Linked DNA regions of Homo sapiens: region 2 is linked to region 1. Evidence: promoter capture Hi-C in human tissues and cell types (Jung and others, 2019). All regions are on one chromosome and are shown on one strand. The core of a region is centred on a gene start or on the middle of the fragment in contact, and the rest is flanking DNA. Distances in the headings are between cores, read along the strand shown.

The links. Contacts are between HindIII fragments. The study calls those that stand out against the background at their distance.
Region 2: a contact is called between a fragment that was not itself captured here and the fragment with the promoter of SPDYC in region 1, in 2 of the 25 tissues and cell types used here (dorsolateral prefrontal cortex and spleen).

What each region holds. Positions count from the first base shown.
Region 1 is chr11:65,166,940-65,173,822 of GRCh38, reverse strand. It overlaps SPDYC (speedy/RINGO cell cycle regulator family member C), which reads right to left and starts at 3,590. Exons shown (of 7, transcript NM_001008778.3): 1 at 3,562-3,590; 2 at 2,324-2,496; 3 at 1,822-1,880; 4 at 1,492-1,577; 5 at 1,218-1,389; 6 at 809-1,139; 7 at 449-640. The coding sequence starts at 2,465. The coding sequence ends at 606. The HindIII fragment of the contact is 3,474 bases long and covers 2,520-5,993 here.
Region 2 is chr11:65,342,039-65,348,309 of GRCh38, reverse strand. DPF2 (double PHD fingers 2) reads right to left here. Exons shown (of 11, transcript NM_006268.5): 5 at 4,473-4,565; 6 at 4,241-4,319; 7 at 2,507-2,644; 8 at 2,252-2,380; 9 at 1,951-2,063. Among named protein-coding and RNA genes, the nearest start is that of TIGD3, 9.6 kb to the left of the region's middle. The HindIII fragment of the contact is 7,351 bases long and covers 785-6,271 here.

The sequences.
Region 1 (6,883 bases), core at 2,341-4,840:
CTCCACAGTTCAAGCAATTCTCCCACCTTGGCGTCCCGAGTAGCTGGGATTATAGGCACCTGCCACCATGCCTGGCTAGTTTCTGTATTTTTAGTAGCAAAGGGGTTTCACCATGTTGGCCAGGCTGTTTTTGAACTCCTGACCTCAAGTGATCCACCCGGCTCAGCCTCCCAAAGTGCTGGGATTACAGGTGTGAGCCACCACGTTCGGCTCCCTGGCCCTCTTCTAAGGGCTGCAGATACCTCATCTCATTTAATCCCATCTAGACTGTGTAGATCTCATCATCCATAGGCATGGATAGCACAGAGATGAAACTGAGGCTCAGAATAACTGGCCACCAATGGGAAGGGGCCAAGCTGTTACAGAGCCTGTGCTCACATGTTGTAACCCTGGTAGATACCCCCTCCCCACCCCAACCTTGGGTCAAGGAACCAGGCCAGGACCTAAGCACAGTTGGTGTCCTGTGGACATGAATTTATTAGAGGGGACTGGCACCAGAGTGGGCACAAGCTGCAGGCTGGGAGGAAGGGGCAGGGGTGGGAGCACAGCCAATGGTGTGTCAGTCAGTGGGCCAGCAGGCGTGCTGTTCTTCACCCTGCAGAGCTTCAGTGCCCAGGGCGTGCCGGAGGCTTTGGGAAGACTGGGGAGAGGAAAGAGTGAGGCTCAGAGAAGAAACCTGCCAAGCTCACACGGGAGGGGCAGCACGTCGACCCCAGGCCCATGGCCCTCTCTCTCATATTGTTGGTCCTCACTCCTGCCTCCCAAGCTCCCACACCAGCCCCCAGCTCCTGTCCCATCCTGCACTCACTGCGGAGGGAGTAGGTGCCTGGTTCCAGTTGCATCTGGGGAGGCAAGACGATGAGAAAGTCCCCACCCCAGGCGTTTTTGACCCTTGAGAGATAATTTTGGGAGGGAGGGCGATGACATTCAGAGGTCAGAGAAGGGCACTTGGATGACACAGGCTTAAGCAAGTGGCTGCTGCAGTGCTGGGGCAAACCACAGGGGGAACAGTGGGGCGGCGAGAGGCCAGGGCCCCGGGGAAGGCGAACAGGGACCTGTGGACAGACCCTCTGAACCCCACCATGGTGGGGGCGCCGGTCCCGAGTCCAAGCCCAGTGGAATGGCTCCTTTGCCATGACCTGGGAGGAGCAGAGTGGACAGTAAATGGGGTGGGAACCCCAGCCTTCCCCACACCCCAGGTTGCCTCCCAGCCTCACCTCCTCACAGCACTGGCGGCTCACAACAGCCCGGAAACCCATCCGTGCCCAAAGCTTATCCCTCTGGTGCAGGAATTTCCCCACTCGTAAACACCAATCTTTTCCCAGGGCCCATGGAAAAATCTCACATTTGGGGCCCTCCAGGTCCTCCTCCATGTCGTTTGCAAGGTACCTAGCCACAGAGGCACAAGGTCAGGGAGCAGAGGCCACACATCTGCCCTGTCCCATCTGACACCTCCAGCAAATGCCTCCACTGCCTGCCCCCACCACTCACAGGGCCAAGAACAGGCTGCTGTGGGTATACTCGCTGAGCTTCAGGTGGGCGCGCTGGAAGTAGACCAGCACCATGGCCAGGAGATACTGCAGAGACAGATCGGGGTGGGGGGTTAGTTATTCTCTGAGGAGGAGGGGCTTGCACCCAGGTTCATTTGCACCCAGGGAGGTTTTGCTGCAGGGAAAGAAAGTCAGTAAAATGGTGGGAAGTGGTGTGCAAAGATGAGGGGGTAAGGATGGAAGGTGAGTGGCTCTCCCTACCAGACCAGGGCACTCAATTCCCACCAACTCAACCTGACCCTCAAGAGACCCCCAGCCTGTACTCCCTCACCTTATCTGAAATCTGGAAGCAGGGGTCTTTGGAGAGGAATTCCTGGACAAAACTGTCCTCTGAGGGTAGAGAAGACATGACAGGACGCAGGTTACCACCACCTCCATGGAGAAGAGTGGCATCAGAAGCTCCAAAGCCCAAGCCACCACTGAACCCTCTCTCTCTTTCTCTTTTTCTCCCTTTTTCTCTTTCTCTCTCTCTTTCTTAATATAAATAGAAATGGAGTCTCACTATGTTGACCAGGCTGGTCTTGAACTCCTGGCCTGAAGTGATACTCCCATTTCAGCCTCCCAAAATGTTGGGATTATAGGTATGACTCACGGTGCCTGGCCCTGAATCCAGTTTCTGAGAGGACACCCCTCCCACCTGCCTAAGCTGGGATACCTGAGAGGGAGAGGGTCAGAGGTCTCAGATGTCTGTACAGGCAGGTGAGACCCCACACTTCACATCTGCTTTCACACTTGACCTCACGGCCCCTCCCGTGCCAGCCCTCCAAACTCACCCAGAAGGCTGAGGAAGGCCTGGACCTCCTGGTGCTGGCGAAAACGGAGGAACCCATTGCCCCCACCTTGCCGGCTGCAGCCCCCCAGCTCTACCTGGGTGGTAACTACAGGGGAAGTGGTGGGGTCTTGGGAGTCACTCATCTCATAGGAGATGGAGATGGGGCAGGGTGACCTGTAGAGAAAGGAGGCTCAGGACTTAGCATGTACCCCCGTGATGCTCACAAATCAAGAGGGTGGTGACAGGGGCCAGGACGGTGGAGGGGTGGGTGCAGAGACTTGGGGGCTCAGAACAGAAGGCAGCCGGGATGCAACAAGAGTGGGGAGGCCAGAAAAGAAGCAAAGAGTTGCTATAGGTGAGGGTGTGGCACCCTCACCCTCCTCCTGGCACCCCAGGACAGGCCAGAGTAACAGCAGCAACAAGCACCGCTGAGGGCTTCCTAAGTGCCTGGGGCTGTGCTTAAGGGCCTTATCTTATTCCATCCTGGTAAGGAGGTAAGTTTAACTCAGACCGGTCGTCAAACGAGGAAACTGAAGCTGAGGCCTAACAGCCGGTTAAAAGTGAAGCCCTTGGTCTCCAAAACCCCAAGAGGTTTTTTGGTTTTTGTTTGTTTGTTTTGAGACACAGTCTCTCTCTGTCGCCCAGACTGGAGTGCAGTGGCGCGATCTCGGCTCACTGCAACCTCCGCCTCCCGGGTTCAACTGATTCTCCAGCCTGAGCCTCCCGAGTAGCTGGGATTACAGGCATGCGCCATGCCACCACGCCCGGCTAATTTTTTTTGTATTTTTTTGGTAGAGACAGGGTTTCACCGTGTTGGCCAGGCTGGTCTCACACTCCTGACCTCCCAAAGTGCTGGGATTGCAGGCGTGAGCCACTGCGCCTGGCCAAAAAAAAAGAAAAAAAAAACCCAAGAGTTTAACTGCTCCTCTAGGCCCCAACTCACAACCACCCCCGACCCCTCACCAAAGCAGAGTTGAAAGGGCCACTGATCCCTTACACCGAGGGGAAACTGAGGCCCTCAGGGAGGAATGAAATTAGAAAAATACCTGGATTTAGAGCAAGTTGATGGGGCCACTTCAAACATTTCAAGCTCCCGTCCTAAACCCACCCTCATCCCTGAGAGAGAGAAGCCAACCACGGGGCCGAGGAGAACGTGCGGTCGACCACCCCAGGGCCAATCTGGGCCCCTCCATCTAGGCGCCCGCAAGCAACCCAGCCTCCTCCTGCAGCGAGCCTTACCCGAGCTCAGGAATGGCCCAGAGCATAACACCAACGCCGCCGCGAGTGCGCTTATATAGCCTGAGGGCGGCCCTGCCCAAAGCAGCCCGTCCACCAATCAGGGCCTTCCTGGGGGGCGAGGCTTGGCCTTCACCGCCTGCCTCTCTGCCAGTGAGTCCAGTCGGCACCCAGCTGTGGCTCCCCAGGGTTTGAAAGCCTCTCCAAAGCTTCATCAACTACAAGAGGGGTGAAGGCAGGCCAGCTGGACCCCAGGGCCTAAGGCCCCATAGGACAGGCAGGGAGCTAGGATCCCTGTTCCCCTCTTGACAAATGCAGCGCCAAGGTGCTGAGCCGGGATATGAGACCCGGACTGCGAGGGCCTGGTGGGCGAGTTTTTTTTCATTGATTGTGCCTTGCTAGGGCAGGGTCTCTGGCTCTCTATGGGTGTCTCTGAATCTCCTGGCCTCCTTGAGTCTCTAGGTTTCACTGAGGCCCCCCGAGTCTCTCTTTTGTTTCTTATTTTATTTTTCCCCTCGTAACACAGAACAAGCTGCCTGGGTCTCAGTGGGCCTCTGAGTCTCTCAGTTTCTTGTTGCCTCTGGTGTCTGGATGTCTGTGGATCTCTGGGTCCTTTGTTTTCTCTCTGATCTCTGGTCTCTGGTGTATCTGCTGTTTCATGGTCTCCCCCAGGCCGCCTCCCAGGCTCCCTGAGGCCGTGAAGGCCTTTCTAGACCAGCTGGTCTGCATCAGGCCATCCTGTTTGTGTGTGTGCACGCATTTGAAGTCGGCCTCCCCTAGAAAGGAAGTAGTGAGTGGGGCAGCATCCATAGCCCGTTCACTAAACACCTACTGCTGCCTACTGAGGAGTCTGTGATGGAATCAGCTCACGTGTTCCTCACAGCAAGCCCGTGAAGTTGATGAGAATGATGAGAAGCCTCATTTTGTCAGCGAACAAACAACTAACACACAGAGTTTGGGTTGCTGACCGACAGGCTGAGTAACTTCCTGCCAGCCACTCAGCTGGTAAGTAGAGATAGAGTTCCAGCCTGGCTGCTGGGCCCACACGCTGGGTAGCCTGGCTGTGTGGTCTACAGCTGTTCCTGGACGCTGCCTGCACAGAGAAGGTGTTCCATGAAACCGAATGAATCTCCTAGACCAGCTGTGTTTTCAACTGTTCTCCTCCTCCCCCAGTAATTAAGGTTAGAGATCAGGAAGGTGTACCAAAAAGAAGCCTGGGAGTGGGCTAGTCACTTTAACTTTGGGAGGGCCTTCAGGCTGATTTCCTTCAGTGCCACCCCTGGAGATCTGACACCGATCTCCCACACTGGGGAGAATATTTGTTTTTACTTTTTTTTTTTTTTTTTTTGAGACGGAGTCTCGCTGTGTTGCCCAGGCCGGAGTGCAGTGGCCCAATCCCGGCTCCCTGCAACTTCCACCTCCAGGGCTCAAGCAATTCTCCTGCCTCAGCCTCCCGAGTAGCTGGGACTACAGGCATGTGCCGCCATGCCTGGCAATTTTTTTGTTTTGTTTTGTTCTCCTGACCTCATGATCCACCCGCCTTGGCCTCCCAGAATGCTGGGATTACAGGCATGAGCCACCATGCCCAGCCTTTCTCTTTCACTTTTCAGAATCCCATGATTCACTGGGCTCTTCAATCTGCCCAGATAATCTCCCCATCTCAAGATCCTTAACTTGGCTGGGAGAGGTGGCTTACCCCTGTAATCCCAGCATTGTGGGAGGCAGAGGAGAGCAGATCACCTGAGGTCAGGAGTTCAAGACCAGCCTGGTAAACATGGCAAAACCCCTCCTCTACTAAAAATACAAAAATTAGCGGGGCATGGTGGTGCATGCCTGTAATCCTAACTACTCGGGAGGCTGAGGCAGGAGAATTGCTTGAGCCCTGGGGGTGGAGGTTGCAGTGAGCTGAGATCATGCCATTGCACTCCAGTCTGGGCAACAGAGCAAGACTTGGTCTCAAAAAAAGATCCTTAACCATCTGCAAAGTCTTTTTTGCCATGTGAGATAACATATTCTCAGGTCTGGGAAGTGAAATGTAGCCATCTTTGGGAGTCCATTATTCTGCCTGCTACAATTATCACAGCAAAATTTATTCTATGCTAACTAATATACTATTTATAAAATTTATATTCATGTAAATGTATATATAATTTGTAAAATCATATATTAATATTGCATGCTATAAAGGATACACGTAAAAGGATATAAAAGAATACACATAAAACATAATAACATACTACCAGCTCAAAAAATATATATATGGCCAGGTCCATTGGCTCACGCCTATAATCTCAGCACTTTTTGGAGGCCGAGACAGGAGGATCATTTGAGTTCAGGAGTTAGAGACTAACCTGGGCAATACATCAAGGCCCCATCTCTACCAAAAATAAACTAGCCTGGCATGGTGGCACGTGACTGCAGTCCTATCTACTCAAGAGGCTGAGGTGGGAGGATCACTTGAGCCCAGGAGTTCAAGGCTGCAGTGAGCTATTATCATGCCATTCTACCCAGCCTGGGTGACACAGCAAGACCCTGTCTCTAAAACATGAATAAATAAATAAATAAGAATATTAAAAATTTCAAAATATAAAGATAGAAAAAATAATATGCAATTACTAAAAGAAAGCTGGGATAACTACACTAATATATTAAAACAACTTTAGGCCGGGCGCGGTGGCTTATGCCTGTAATCCCAGCACGTTGGGAGGCCGAGGCAGGTAGATCATTTGAGGTCAGGAGTTCAAGACCAGCCTGGCCAACATGGTGAAATTCCATTTCTACTAAAAATACAAAAATTAGGTGGGTGGTAGTGGCGAATGCCTGTAATCCCAGCTACTTGGGAGGCTGTGGCAGGAGAATCGCTTGAGCCTAGAAGGCAGAGGTTTTGGTGAGCCAAGATTGTACCACTGCACTCCAGCCTGGGTGACAGAGTGAGAACTTGTCTCAAAAAAAAAAAAAAACAAAAAACAAACAAAAAAACACAACTTTGGACAAAAAGCATAACTAGGGAGAAAGAGAATTTATGTAGTGATTTTAAAAATATACAGCCGGATGTGGTGGTGTGCACCTGTAGTGCTGGTCTGGGCAACATAGGGAGATCCTGTCGGTAAGAAGAGGAGGGGAAGGAGGGGAGGGAAAATAAAGGAAAGGAAAGAGGCAGGAAGAGAAAAATAAAAGGAAAAAGGAAGGAGAAGAAAGAAAGAAGGGAGGGAGGGAAGGAAGGAAGAAAAAAAAGTGTATAATTACCTAACCAGAATCCAGGTAAAGAAAAAAATATATAGTAATTTGTTTACTCCTAAAAATAAAGTCAATAAGCAAGAAACCG
Region 2 (6,271 bases), core at 3,211-5,710, 170 kb before region 1:
CCGTGCCCAGTGACTATTTCTTTTTGAGACAAGGTCTTGCTTTGTTGCCCAGGCTAGAGTGCGGTGGTGTGATCATGGCTCACTGCAGCCTCAAACTCCTGGGTTCAAGCAATCCTCCCACCTCAGCCTGCCAAGTAGCTGGGACTAACGTGTGTGCCACCACACCTGGCTAAGTGTTTATTTTTTTTGTGGAGACAGGATCTCCCTATGTTGCTCAGGCTGGTCTTGAATTCCTGGGCTCAAGTGATCCTCCCGCCTCAGCCTCTCAAGTGTTAGGATTACAGGCATGAGCCTCCATCCTTGTCCCTACAGTCTACCCTCCACACGGCACCCAAAGTCATCTTTTTAAAATATAAGACAAGGGCCAAGCACGGTGGCTCACACCTGTAATACCAGCATTTTGGGAGGCTGAGGCAGGTGGATCACCTGAGGTCAGGAGTTGAAAACTAGCTTGGCCAACATGGTGAAACCCCGTCTCTACTAAAAATTAGCCAGGCGTGGTGGCGGGCGCCTGTAATCCCAGCTACCTGGGAGGCTGAGACAGGAGAATTGCTTGAACCTGGGAGGCAGAGGTTGCAGTGAGCCGAGATTGCGCCATTGTACTCCAGCCTGGATGACAAGAGTAAAACTCCATCTTGAAATAAATAAATAAATATAAAATAAAATATAAGACAAGGCCAGACATGGTGGGTTCATGCCTGTAATCCCAGCACTTTGAGAGGCCAAGGTGGGAGGACTGCTTGAGCTCAGGAGTTTGAGACCAGCTCAGCAATATGGCAAGACCCTGTCTCTACCAAAAATATAAAAAAGTAGCCAGACATGGTGGTGTGCATCTGTGGTCCCAGCTACCCGGGAGGCTGAGGTGGGAGGATTGTACTGCTTGAGCCTGAAGGGAAAGGTTTTAGTGAGCTAAGATCGCGTCACTGCACTCCAGCCTGGATGACAGAGAGACTCTGTCTCAAAATAAATAAATAAATACATAAAGAATAAATAAATAGCTGGGTGCAGTGGCTCACGCCTATAATCCCAGCACTTTGGGAGGCTGAGGCAGGCGGATCACCGGAGGTCAGGAGTTCGATACCAGCCTGGCAAACATGGAGAAACCCCATCTCTACTAAAAATACAAAATTAGCCGGGTGTGGTGGCACGTGTCTGTAATCCCAGCTACTTGGGAGGCTGAGGCAGGAGAATCACTTGAACCCAGGAGGCAGAGGTTGCAGTGAGCTGAGATTGTGCCACTGTACTCCAGCCTGGGCGACAGAGCAAGACTCCATCTCAAAAAAAAAAAGTAAATAAATAAATACATAAATAACCATGTCACTTCCCGAGTAAAACCCTTCAACAGTGTCCTGTTGTACCTAGAATAAAACCCGAGGCCCCAGAGATCTGGCAGTGCTTGCCTCTCTCATCTCATTGCCCACCATACTCTCCCATGCCCTGTCATCTGGCTTGTCCAACATAAGGCCTTGGCGCTGGCTGCTCCTTTCCTGGGATTCCTCTACCTCCAAATCTTGACTGGCTCCTTGGTATCACCAAAATTTCAACACCAGCATCACCCTCCCAGAAGAGCCATACCTGACCATCAAAATAAATCACTTATGCAATTATTCTCTGCCACAGTACTGATTTCGTTTTTTTCATGGCACATTATACAAATCTCATTTACATCCTTGCTTATTGTTGTTCCTGTAAGAATGTAAATCTCATGAGGCAGGGACCTTGTTTGTCTTTAGCATCTTTAGTGACTAGAACAGTGTCTGACATAAAATCAGCACTCAATATATATCTGGCAACAAATCAGAGTTCTGACTGAGATGCTAGGGAGGGGCGTGTGGCATGTGGGAGGGATCCTGCTCCCTTTTTAAAAGAAAGCTCACTTTAGAGGGAACTGTGCAAACAGCAGTAAAAGCCCAGAAGGAGCCATGCTGAGGAGGGGGCGGGGATACACACGTCATTCTCGGAGGTGCCGCAGATATTGCAACATTTGCACTCGATGCACTGCCAGCGGTATGTCTTCACTGCCGCCATCATCACGGGGGTAAATTGGAGGCAAGATGGATGCCCTGTAGTGGGGGAAGTGAGTGAGACAGACAGTCGGAAATGCGGGGGGAAGAGAGGAGCTCCTGCCTGTGGCTACATCTTCTCTTGGTTAGGAAAAGCGAGGTGGGCTGGTTATGACAGCCCTAGAGGCCAGCAAGCCAAGAGCCCCTTGGGGACTGGGCAAAGCAGCAGCCTTCACGGGAAGCAGTACCTGAGCGGCCACAGTCAGAACAGGACACCAGCTCCTCGGGTTGTCCCGTCTTCTTGTTAATCTTTGAGTCCCCCAGGCAGAAGTCACAGTAGTTGTTGGGCAAGGCCAATCCATCAGGACCCTTTTTGGCTACAGAGAGAAAGAGTTTTGATGACACCCATGGGGGTCCCTGAGCCACTCAACACCCATGCAAGGAGTGGTTTTCATAACCAGGCCAACTTCTGCTTGCCCACCACTTCTGACACCTCAGCTTACATTTCTGCTCCTCAGACCTCTGGGAAACAGGAGTGGGTGGTTGAGAGTCTTCCTTGTCCTCGCCCTCCTCCTCAGCCAAGTGGGAGTGGGCATAGTGGTAACTGAGGCCTGGTCGGTTCTTGTAACGTTTTCCACAAACTGAGTGGGAAGAAGATTGCAGAGAAAGGTGTTAGGATACAAGAGTGCCATGTCCCCATCCCTGCAAGCTGTGGGGGCTCCACCTGAGGCAGAGGGCAACCATCCCTTCCCCTAGCAGCTCCACTCTGGGACAGGCCTTGAGTGACGGCCACTTCCCCTCAGCCAGGAGCATCAGGCCGTGGGGCTCTCTAGCTTCTGGGGCTCTTTTCCCTCCTGAACTCCAACCCCATGGCCACCACTGCTCTTCCATGTTGACTTTTGGGGGGCTTAGCCCTTGCCCCATCACCAGTTAGTTGCTCTGGGATATACTAACAGTCTGGGACGCTCCAGGTCAGGAAAGGGAAGGATATTCCTATATCTTTGGGGTGGCAGGAAGGGGGAAAAGTGGATAAGACTCCAAACTTTTTTACCCCTCAGTAAATGTGGGAGGCTCATGCTACCCCACACACCATGGAGCCCATCTCCCCTGAATGTGGGTAAACAAGCAGGGGATGGGTTTCTTGGGGATAGCCTATCAATGAAGCCAGTTGGGCAGTTGGTCCCCAAAGAAATTCAAGCACACTCCCATGTAATTGCCCTGTCCAGGCCTGCCAATCAGCAAGGAAAGCAGATCCCCATGAGGCATTTTGTCATCTTGAGAAGTAATACCAAGAAGGGCAAGGGGGCCAGCAGGAAAGGAGTGGGGAGAGAGGATGGCAGGAGGAGGTGGTGGGGCAGTGGGGAACATGAGCTGACCACCAGCTGCCTGGTCTGGGGAGGGAGCGGAAGGGTCTGATTGTAATGGGCTCCTGATAATGCTTCTGAAGCCACCCCATGCACTGGGCCGAGCAGCTCTAGGAGCAGGTTTGTGGGAAACAAGCAGTGGTAAAGGCAGCCTTCAGGACTTTGAGGAGTAGAGCACAGCAGAAATTCCACTGCTCCTACCCCCATGCCATTCCAGAGATTTTAAAGCTAGCATCCCAGGAAATGAGAAAGGCAGGAGGAACAAGGGAAGAGGGAAAAAGGGAAAGGAAAACCACAAGTCTGAAAAGTTGAGAGAGCTACCTCTCTGGGGCGCTTTCGAGGTATGCTTTTGTTTGAAACTATCTGAAAGACAGAAAGAAAAGTCATGAGAAGAAGGCCTTGATACACTTGAGACAGGAGCAGCAGCAGCAGGAAAGCAGAGCAAACGAGAGAGAAACCCCAGCGGCGATGGTGCTCCCAGGGTGGAGGGACAGAAGTGGGGCAAGGCAGACAGAAAGAAAAAGAGAACAGACGTTGAAAAACTCAGTGTCAGACCCCTGGGGCCCTGGCTTAACTGAGGCCAGGAGACCTGCAGGCCATCTGTTGAGAGGCCAACCCTGCCTGCTGTGGCCCCCACAAGCAACCCTACCCCAGAGGATGGCAGAAATCTTTCCCAGAGCATGCAGGTCCCACCCGTCATATAGCAGGGACCCAGGCCTCCCAGGGGTCTCAGACGGAAGCAGTCAGCAGGCAGGACAAGAGCCCAGGTTTGTTTTAATACTCTGGGCAAAAACACAACCCTCCCTCCTCTCATATCCAGAGCAGGAGCTGGGTCCAAGGCAAGGTCTACCCACCCACTTGTGAGGCACTCACTGTCACAGGCATAGGGCTTATCCCGGTCCTCCAGGATGGAAGCATCCAGCTTCTTACGGGCACTGCCCACACCCTTACCCTGCCAAGAAGAGCAAAGAGACACCCTTATTTTGGTAGCTGGGCCTGAGGAGTTAGACTCTTTTGGAAGTGGCCGCTAATCTCACTTGAAATAAAATAAGGAATTCCCTAGGCCACCCTGTCCCAAGATGCAGGCAGCACGCTGGCCCCTCACCTTGGATTTCCCCTTTCCCCGACGCTTGGGAGTATCTTCTTCATAGTCTTCATCATCGAGGTCATCCAGGAAGTCATCTGGTTCTAGGATCCGCTGAGTGGACAGGAGGGTTAGCATGGGTAGAAATATGTGCATCCAAAAGCTCCCCTATGATGAGACTGGCCAAGGCCACCCAGAACCTCCTCTGTGACGTGGTCCCACCCACACCAGCCTCATTCCTCACCAACGCCTTTCAAGCATGCTATAATCCTGCTCCTGCTCCCTTCCATACTTTGGGATATCTTTCCCCTGTGCTTCACGTTATTTCCTTAGCCTGAAATGCTTTCCCCACCATGCCACATGGCCAAATCAAATAGCATGCTTCCAAAAGGTTGCCCTGATGCCACAAGCAGCCATGCCCTCTCCTGCCTCTGATTGGCCACCCTGGGAGCACATTATTGGTGGTTCTGTCCTGACACTCGCCTCCTAGTTTAAATTAAAATGTTGTTGCTTATTTGTGTGACCTTGTGGGAAGCTTTTTTTTTTTTTTTTTTTTTTTGAGACAGAGTTTCGCTCTTGTTGCCCAGGCTGGAGTGCAATGGCGCAATACTGGCTTACCGCAACCTCCGTCTCCTGGGTTCAAGCGATCCTCCTGCCTCAGCCTCCCAAGTAGGTGGAATTACAGGCATGCGCCACCACACCTGATTAATTTTGGATTTTTAGTAGAGACGGGGTTTCTTCATCTTGGTCAGGCTGGTCTCGAACTCCCGACCTCAGGTGATCCAACTGCCTCGGCCTCCCAAAGTGCTGGGATTACAGGCGTCAGCCACCGTGGCCGGCCATGGGAAGTTTTTTTTTTTTTTTTGAGATGGAGTCTCGTTCTGTCACCTAGGCTGGAGTGCAGTGGCGCAATCTCGGCTCACTGCAAGCTCTGCCTCCCGGGTTTGCGCCTGAGTAGCTGGGACTGCAGGTGCCCACCACCACGCCTGGCTAATTTTTTTTGTATTTTTAGTAGAGACGGGGTTTCACCATGTTAGCCAGGATGGTCTCGATCTCCTGACCTCAAGATCCGCCTGCCTCGGCCTCCCAAAGTGCTGGGATTACAGGCGTGAGCTACCGTGCCCGACCCATGGGAAGTTTTTAAACTGCTTTGTTTCAGCCTCTGTGTGAAATGGGGAACACAGGACCTACCCCATAAGGTTGTACAGACTAAAGGAGAAAGGGCATGAAAAGGCACTTAACCCAATGCTGGCATATTTATAGCTGTTATTTTTACATGTATTCTTATCTTCTCTGTTGGCAGAGACTAAGTGTGCTTCACTGTGTAACCTCAGGGACCAAAAAACTGTGACACAAACTTTTGTGATAAAAGAGTAAAGCACTTAGGGATAAAAGTTTGTTTCCCTCCCTTCCCAGACAGGGTCTCCCTCTGTTACCCAGGCTGGAGTGCAGAGGCATAAGCAGAGCTACAGCTTCAATCTCCTGGGCTCAAGCAATCCTCCCACCTCAGCCTCCTGAGTAGCTGGGACTGCAGGCGTGTGCCACCATGCCCAGCTAATTTTTTATTTTTATTTTTAGTAGAGACAAGGTCCTGCTATGTTGCCTAGACTGAAAAGTTTTTGAAGTTTCCTCTCAAATAGTTTAGCAAAGACAGATAAGGCAAATGTGGCAAAATGTGGAATTGATAAATCTAGGTAAAGAGTATGTGGTATTTCATTGTACTATTCTTGCACCTTCTGGTTTTAATTTTTTTTTTTTGTTGCCCAGGCTGGAGTGCAGTGGCATGATCATGACTCATTGCAGTCTCGAACTCATAGGCT